Linked DNA regions of Homo sapiens: regions 2 and 3 are each linked to region 1. Evidence: promoter capture Hi-C in 16 types of primary human blood cells and fetal thymus (Javierre and others, 2016). All regions are on one chromosome and are shown on one strand. Each heading gives the region's core, a stretch centred on a gene start or on the middle of the fragment in contact. The rest is flanking DNA. Distances are from core to core; before and after follow the strand shown.

The links. Contacts are between HindIII fragments. The CHiCAGO score rates a contact against its expected background, and 5 or more counts as called.
Region 2: a contact is called between a fragment that was not itself captured here and the fragment with the promoter of SLC25A24 in region 1, in 3 of 17 cell types (total CD8 T cells, M0 macrophages and naive CD4 T cells). The highest score is 8.3, in total CD8 T cells.
Region 3: a contact is called between a fragment that was not itself captured here and the fragment with the promoter of SLC25A24 in region 1, in 1 of 17 cell types (non-activated CD4 T cells). The highest score is 5.3, in non-activated CD4 T cells.

Annotation. Positions count from the first base shown.
Region 1 is chr1:108,198,684-108,201,592 of GRCh38, reverse strand. SLC25A24 (solute carrier family 25 member 24) reads left to right here and starts at 1,250. Exons shown (of 10, transcript NM_013386.5): 1 at 1,250-1,637. The coding sequence starts at 1,455. RefSeq lists an enhancer at 1,032-1,326 and a silencer at 1,127-1,466. The HindIII fragment of the contact is 7,151 bases long and covers 1-2,909 here.
Region 2 is chr1:108,557,931-108,560,630 of GRCh38, reverse strand. EEIG2 (EEIG family member 2) reads right to left here and starts at 531. Exons shown (of 11, transcript NM_001010883.3): 1 at 66-531. The coding sequence starts at 202. RefSeq lists a silencer at 331-870. The HindIII fragment of the contact is 1,122 bases long and covers 757-1,878 here.
Region 3 is chr1:108,656,628-108,659,456 of GRCh38, reverse strand. It overlaps HENMT1 (HEN methyltransferase 1), which reads left to right. Exons shown (of 8, transcript NM_001102592.2): 3 at 1,878-2,006. Among named protein-coding and RNA genes, the nearest start is that of HENMT1, 3.1 kb to the left of the region's middle. The HindIII fragment of the contact is 3,179 bases long and covers 1-2,829 here.

The DNA.
Region 1 (2,909 bases), core at 1-2,500:
GGTTTTCAAGGACAGAGAAAATTTGAAGTTTGAAGGCAGTTCCAAAGGAAGGCAATGATTCTTAATAAGACTGGAAGTTGGAAGTAATATAAAAAGATAAATCAGTTTCAAGATGATTTTACTAAGCAGGCAGCCCTTAATTTACAAATTCTAGATTCATACATATCTTAAACATACAAAATGATATGAGGAGAGGTAAGTTCAGGGTCTGAGTTCCTGGCTGTTGTTGGAACTGATTTCTGTGTAGTGATTCAGAAGATGTGAGACACCCTAATTTACAAGTACAGAGGTATCTTCTTTTCTGCAAACAGCAGTACAACAATAGTTCCTCTTACGCAGCTGTGAATGAACAGGATTATTACAATTAATGATATCTCATTTGATTGGCGCCTTAGAGAATTAAGACCTTTCACACCTAATATACAACTTTGTTGTGAAGGCAGATATTTATATTCTCATTTTACTGATGAGAGACTACCCGGAGACGCTATGTCACACCTGAAGGATTAGGTACTTTCTCTGTTAAGTCCAATGTTCCTTCCGTTATTCCATGCTAGGCAGTAATAAGTTCTGTCTTGCCTGAGTAATAAGCTCCAAACCTCGGAACTGCACCCATCTTGAGAAGGAGGAGGGCGCTGTGGTTTTTTCTGATAAGTGCAGCTGGCAGACACTCTATACGCTTAATCACGGGCAAATCCTAGCTAAGCTGCCTACCAAACTAGTCCTTCTTTTCCCCGTTGCCCACGCAGATGGCTGTTGATCTTTTCTGCAACAAATCCAGGAGTTTCTCCTTTTTGTTTTATAATTGCTCCAATAGATGCTTTAGGATTTAACTCTCTGCTTTTTAAAGCAGAATCGCCATCCCAGGTGTGCAACCACGAAAAAATTAGACATCCGTGAGAGACAATGCCCTCCATGGCCCAGTTTCCAGGCAGAGAGAAGCAGCTCTGGGCTGACCGCCAAGGCTCCGGCCCGAGAGGGTCTTTAAGTGGAGTAACCAGTCTTCAAGACCCCGCTCCCAAGCCACCGACGCGCTGACGCTGCAGCCCTGGACCTGCTGGGGGCCTCTTCCTCGGACCCGCATGCTGACAGCGGGACTGGCAACTGGGCAGAGGTCGACCCCGGGTCCGCACAGCACCTCCCGAGACCCAGCTCCCAGCTCCCTCACTTCCGGCTCTCTGGAGGCGGGCCCGGCCAGTGCCGCCGAGGCCAGCGCGGCGAGCTCCTCCCCAGCAGCGGCGGGACGGCCACACCCTGCGCTCCGCGCGGGCTCGGGTGGGGTCTCCGCTCCTGCGCCCTGCGCCCTGCGCGCCGCAGCCGCAACCCCGACGGCGCCCCAAACGCTGTTGCGCCGCGCGCCCCGCCCAGCCCGGCCTCGCGCTGGTCCCGGTCTCGCCCCGCAGCCCTCGATCTCCCGTGACTTCCTCGGCCAGGCCGCCTGCGCCTCTGGGACCATGTTGCGCTGGCTGCGGGACTTCGTGCTGCCCACCGCGGCCTGCCAGGACGCGGAGCAGCCGACGCGCTACGAGACCCTCTTCCAGGCACTGGACCGCAATGGGGACGGAGTGGTGGACATCGGCGAGCTGCAGGAGGGGCTCAGGAACCTGGGCATCCCTCTGGGCCAGGACGCCGAGGAGGTGGGTCGCCGCCGGGGCGCCGCCTGAGCGTAGGGAGGGCTGCGGGCGCTGGGGACACTGCGAGGACCGAGGAGGGCGGCGGCTTGAGGCGTTGCCAGGAGAGGAAGGAGGAACTGTGGCGCCCAGCGCTCCGGTGGCTTCAGAAACTCGGGCGTGGGGCCGCGACCGGCGACCCCGGTAACAGAAGTGGGTCATAATACGAAAGTCTACTGGTATTTGTCCAGATAAAATGAGTGTTGTGGACACTCTGGCCCACGGGCACTGTTAAATTTTTAAGACACTTTTGTCCTGAATCCATCCCAGGTTCTTTGTTTTCTGTTTTAATACCTTGCAGACATGTAATCCGTTTTAGCTGTCAGACTTCAGTGGGTCCCAAGTTTTGTATAAAGGCGCACACATTCGATCTCTTTCGAAGCTGCTTTGTTACAGCAGCTATGTGTATTGTCTACTGTTTGAAAACTGTTTGAAAACCAATCGCGTGTTTCCCCCACTTCCTGTTGAGAAGGAATGGCGGCATTCCATTGTTTAAGACATTCCTAGGTTAATGCCCTAGGTACATAAATTGATCTGAAGGGTTGACTTGACCTGCGACTGAGCAATTTCATTTTCTCTGAGTCATCTTAACTGTGCCCCTGAACTTCTGCCCCTTTAGTAGGGTGGAGATATGTGGAACTTCTCCAACCCTGTTGAAGCGTTCCCTGACACTGGCATTCTCTTATCCAAAGAGGGAAAGTGATTAGGTTACTATGAGGGCCAACAACTGTTATATAGTTATATTTCACTTCTCTTTTAATGTCTTTGGTAGTTATAGGCCTCTTCAGTTTACTGTTTCTTCTAGAGTCAGATTTAGTAAGTTACAATTTTTTTTGAAACTGCCTGTTCTGTCCAAGGTTCATAATACTCACCGATGATTTTATAACACTTCTGACTGAATCTGTAGGTAGGTTCTCTATTTCATTCCTCATATCTATCCTTTTCTCCCCTTCAATCTTGCCAAAGTTTTGTGTATTTTATTCATACTTTGAAGGAACCAACTTTTGGTACTTTGTGCTGATTGTCCCAGAAATGGCCCAGTTGGAGTTCCCCACCATGTCCAATCATTGGCTGGAAGCAGCCCAGGAAAGGGACGACCTTGCTGCAGTGCATCAGCAGATGCCAGGGTTAGAGGCTAGAGAGTGGAAGTCAACTGTGTTCCTCACAGTAGGTGCCTTTGAAGGGAGATCTCAGTGGTACAACTCCATGGTCCCTACAATATACAAAAGCTCTTTGGAG
Region 2 (2,700 bases), core at 68-2,567, 360 kb before region 1:
ATGCTGCCCATCCAACAAGCCCTGGCCAAGCAGAAAGGGGCGAGGCGGCGCGGGAGGCGAGTTACCTGGAGGACTCGGCGGTGAAGCTGCCGCCGTCCAGCAGCCGCATCTTGCAGAAGAGGACCCCATTGACGAAGGGCACTGAGGAGAGCTCCTCGAGCTCGAAGTCCACCTTAAACTTAAACTTCTTCTTCTTCATCATCGTGAGAGCCAGGCGCCTGCAAGCTGGGCGCACGGCCGGGCGCCGCCGCCTCAGCTTGGCCGAGCCCCGGATCAGCCCAGCCCCATGGCCGGGGCCGCGAGCTGTGCGCGGGGGCGCGGCCGGGGGGCGCCGCAGGCCGGCCGCGGCCGGGGCCGCTGCCGCCGCCTCTCGCGGCAGCCTGGGCCGGAACGCGGCGGCAGCTGCGGCGCGGACCCCGACCGCCCGCGGGGAGCGGTCGTGCTGCAGCTCGCCCGGGGAGGTGAGCGCCCTTTTGGTGCTCAGCTCGCCGCCGCCGCCGCCGCCGCCTCCGCCGCCGCTGCCGCCCGTCTGGGAGTCGGGAGAGGCGAGGCTCGAGGAACCGCCGCCTCAGCGCCTCGGGGGTCGGGGGCGCCCCCAGCGGCCGCGGCCTGCAGCGCACGGCGGGGCGGAAGCCGGAGGGAGGGCGGGGACTTTGTGGGCGGGCGCGGGCTTGGCCGCGGACTCTAACCCGCGACGGCAGTTAGCACGTCACGCCTTTCTGGGGTTAAAAAAAGACAAACCCGACAGAGAAAGCTTCCTTCTACCGCTTCCTCTCCGCCTTTCTTTTCAGTTTTTGCACCGCCTCCTTTCTCCCCCACCCCCTCCAGTGGTTTCTTTCCTTTGGGTTTGAGAGCCATGGGTTAATAGAGGCAATTAAAATCTCAGCGTTGTTTTGGTCAAATTGAAATCCTAAAACTAAAATTTCCGTTAGGTACTCTAAATTCACGAGCCTTCAAATATAAAAGGAAGATAAGGTAGGAAAAAGGAAAATGATGTGCTGAGGGACTATCAAGGGCCCAGGCACCGTACTGCTGCAGGCGCTTTCTCTGGGGTATAGCTTATCTAGTTCCTGTCACCCAGGACAAAAGATAAAAGAGCAAAGAAGCAGTTAAAATAATACCCTCCCTTTAAAAATTTGTCTGTCTATACTGAGAACTGAAATGCTTAAAATCAAATTCTGCAGGCAGTCTGGCATGGCTACGCTGTAATCCCAGCTACTCGGGAGGCTGAGGAGGGAGGTTAGCCTGAGCCGGGGAAGCGGAGCTTGCAATGATCGGAGATCGCGCCACTGCACTCTAGCCTGGGCAACAGAACAAGCCCCTGTCTTAAAAACAAAACAAAATCTTCAGAGCAGGCTTAAAAAAAAATCTCCCTAGGGGAATAACAATTACCTGCCTTCTGTAATCATGCATGTATTGTTACAATGAATGTTACAAAGTTGGTTACGTGATGTTCATGTTTTTAAACTGAGTTATTGTCATTTTCACTCAGATTCTGCCACAGTAATTCTGAAAGGGTTTAATTGAAAATATTTTCTTTCTCAGTTTACTCGTTTACTCATTCATTCATATAAAAAAATTGCTTAAAATGTCAATCATCGGCTAGACCCCATAACCAAAAGCCAATAACTGCCCTCAAGAATTTTACAATCTAGTGAGGAAGACATGTTTAGACAGGTCATTAAAAAAACACAACCTAGCACCAAGCTATGTAGAACTCAGAGAAGCAATTAATTGAAGTTAATCAGTTTTCTGAATTTCAAAGGATGAAAATGATTTGGGACAAAGTGGGGTAAGTTGTTCTAGGAGAAATAAATTAAAAAAAAAAAAAGATTCAGAGGCAGGTTCGGGGGTGGGGATTTGGTAATGGATAAAGCTTCTTACCCTGCAGGACAGGGGGCAAAGACAGTGAGATGCATTTGGGGACTTTGAGATTTGTCATTTAGAGCACTGGATGAATGTTAATTTCATTGACTGAACATTGAAAGCAAGAGGAGGGCAGGTTGGGAATGGAAGAGATAATGAGTCTTTATGGGATCTGCTTGCAGTACATCTAGGGAGAGAGAGGCAGCCTTAGCTCATAAAAATGCATTGGCAATTGAAAATATACATTTGGGAATTGAGGTAATCGCTGATGGCTGAAGCCCAAAAGGTGGATAAGGATGAGTTACTCTGAAGAATATTTAAAGGGTAGGCAAAGAGGAGATCGTGAAGGTGCCTAAGAACAAGCAGTCAAGAGAAAAAGGAGATGAAGAAAGAGATGGCCTGGAAGCCCAGACGGTTTTAATCATGTAACATTCGTAGTTACAAAGTTCTATTGTGTGCCAGGCACTATGCTGGGTACTAGAGATGCAAATGAATAAGACATAGGGGCTTATAAAGGAATGGAGAAAAACAGAGATATGCAAACAGATCAACTAAAGTGTGTGTGTGTGGTATGTGAGTATGTGTGTGTGAGAGAGAGAAGAGAGAGAGAAAGAAAGAGAGAGAGCAATCTGTGATCCATGTAGGACAGAGGACCATTTCAAGAGAGTGCTGCAGAGCAGTCCCAGAGGATTTGGACTGAAAAGAAGCTACTGAATTGAAGGTCTAGGAGGTCATTGGTAATCTTGGCAAGAGAAGTCATCATAAAAGATAGTGACAAAGTAAGATGAAAAGTGACAAAGTAAGTGAAAAGATGACAGTGAAAAGTAAGATAGT
Region 3 (2,829 bases), core at 270-2,769, 460 kb before region 1:
GCTCCCTGCTGTCCAGTAGCTACACATGGCAAGTGGGCACTTGAAATGTGGCTAGTGGAATTGAGGAACCGAACTTTAATTTTTTTTTTTTTTAAGACAGGGTCTTGCTCTGTTGCCCAGGCTGGAATGCACTTGCCCAGTCACGGTTAACTGCAACGCTGACCACCTGGGCTCATAACTTCATTTTTAATTTTAAGTTTAAAATTGGATATTTGATTACATTATTGGAAAAAAGTATGTTTGGAATAACTTGGGTATGTGCATGTATATTTTAAATGTAAAGTTTTTAAATCCAATACAGACAAGTATTTCTGATGAAGGTTTTGGAACTGAGACGCAGAAGTACAAAATATGTAGCACACTGGATTTTGAAGACTTAATGTGAAAAACAAGAATCTAAAATCTCTTATATTGATTTTATGTAAAAATTATATTTTCGATATATTGGTTTAAATATTCTAATTCCGATTATAATTCCAATTCTTGGGCTACAAGAAAGTTGCCTACTTGTATTTTATCTATTGGACAGTGCTACATCAGATATCAAATACCCTTTGGACTACTTTTATAATACTGCTGTATAGGAATAGTAACAGCTATTACAGATTAATCTTATAAATTCTGTTTTTTCTTGGGGTCATGTTAAAGAAAAAATTAGTCTGACTTTATTGAGGACTGTTGCAATAAGAACATTGCAAAGATGAAGAATTTGACCAGATAGGGTGATCAGATATCAGGGGTAGAAGATTCTGTCTAAACTGACTTAGAAGTATTCTTATTAAAACTGGGCTAGGCAGCCCAAAGATAGGATTGGGGCCAGGGTTTGAGGTCTATTCAAGAAGATGGCTCAGAGGAACCTGACTGAAGTTTGGTCAGTGAGAGAGTCTTTTGCTGGTGTGTTGGAATGTTCCTACAGATGCCCAACTACTCAGGAGGCCGAGGCCAGAGGATTGCTTGAGCCCAGGAATTTTAAACCAGCCTGGGCGACATAGTGAGATCCTCTCTCTCTCTTAAAAAGAGTGTTGGCTGGGTGTGGTGGCTTACACCTGTAATCCCAGCACTTTGGGAGGCCAAGGCGGGTGGATCACGAGGTCAGGAGTTCAAGAAGAGCCTGGCCAACATGGTGAAACCCGTCACTACTAAATACAAAAATTAGCCAGGCATGGTGGCGCATGCCTGTAATGTAATCCCAGCTACTCGGGAGGCTGAGGCAGGAGAATTGCTTGAATTGAGGGAGGCGGAGGTTGCAGTGAGCTGAGATCGCGCCACTGCACTCCAGCCTGGGTGACAGAGCAAGACTCCGTCTTGGGGGGAAAAAAAAAATATATATATATATATGTGTGTGTGTGTGTGTGTATATATGTGTGTGTGTGTGTGTGTGTGTGTACATATATATGTGTGTGTGTGTGTATATATATGTGTGTGTGTGTAAGTGTGTGTACATATATGTGTGTGTGTGTGTGTATATATATGTGTGTGTGTATATATATATAGTCAGTCATTATAAATATTTTCCAGCCTCCTGCCTACTTGGACCACAGGCTTTGGCGACTCACTCCACAAAAGGTCCCTTATGGTTAGGAGTCATCTAATTGTTTTCATTGAATACATTCATTGGTAATGTTCCCTTCAGCTGAAACTAAGCTATAGGGAGCATACAGCTAGATTCTCTCTTGTTAAAAGGCATGAGAGGATGCTTACATGAACTGTGGAGGAAATGCAGTGCTACCTAATGATTTTAGGACAAAGGGTATGTGAAGGCCAGTGTGTTTTTCAAAGTGATTGGGGGAAATAAAGTTTTTTTTTTTTTGCCCCTTATTTAATTTCTGAAGTCATGCATGATTTAGAACCTGTCTTTTTTTGTTTGTGAACTTCAGTGCAGTAGTGTGGTTGACGGTAATTTTGAAGAAGTTCCCAGGGAGACGGCAATTCAGTTTAAACCTCCACTATACAGACAGCGGTACCAGTTCGTTAAAAATTTAGTGGATCAACATGAGCCTAAGAAGGTAGGTATTTCTCTTTCCAAACATTTAATTATTAAGACTAGTAGACTAGTCATATGAGGTGTTTTGTCAAATGGATTAGTATGGAGAGACTTTTCACAGGGGTTATTGCAATAGGGAGAATGCCGTAACCACAAGATCTGCAGGTGTCTCAAGAGTTAAGCAAAAGGGGTTTTTCTTTTACTGGAGAAGTGAACAAAGCTAGAAACTAGGGAGGTGGGATGAGAGGGTGGTTTGAAAGGACAGTGGAATGGGGAGCCTTAAGGAGGGGGCTGTTTCCTCAGGCTGTAGTGCAGGGCCCTGGGGGAAGAAGTAAAGTTTGAATAAAGTATGGTTAAAAAAGGAATTTTCTTCCCATTGATCAGTGGGGACAAGTATTCATGATAATCATTTGAGGCAAAGAATGGAAACACAAGGAATCTTATCTAAGTTTTATGGAGGAGGGTGGTTTTTTGCAGTGAGCCCTTTCCTGGAACACAAAGCACAGGTGGATTCCTTTAGCAGATGCCAGAAACACAGGGCTCAGACAGAATTCAGCATTGTCAGGTTCAAATGTGAAGAAAATCTTAAGATTTTATAGTTGGATGTGATCTTGTAGGTACCGTACTTCTAGAGCATTTAGTTAGAATATCAGGCAAACTGGTATTGTAGCCACAGGTATTGTGGTTCTTTTAAAATTAGATGATAATGGGCCGGGTGCAATGGTTTACACCTGTAATTCCGGCACTTTGGGAGGCTGAGGCAGGTGGCTAGCTTGAGACCAGCCTGGCACCATAGTGAGACCCTGTGTCTACAAAAAATAAAATTAGCTGTGCATGGTGGTGCG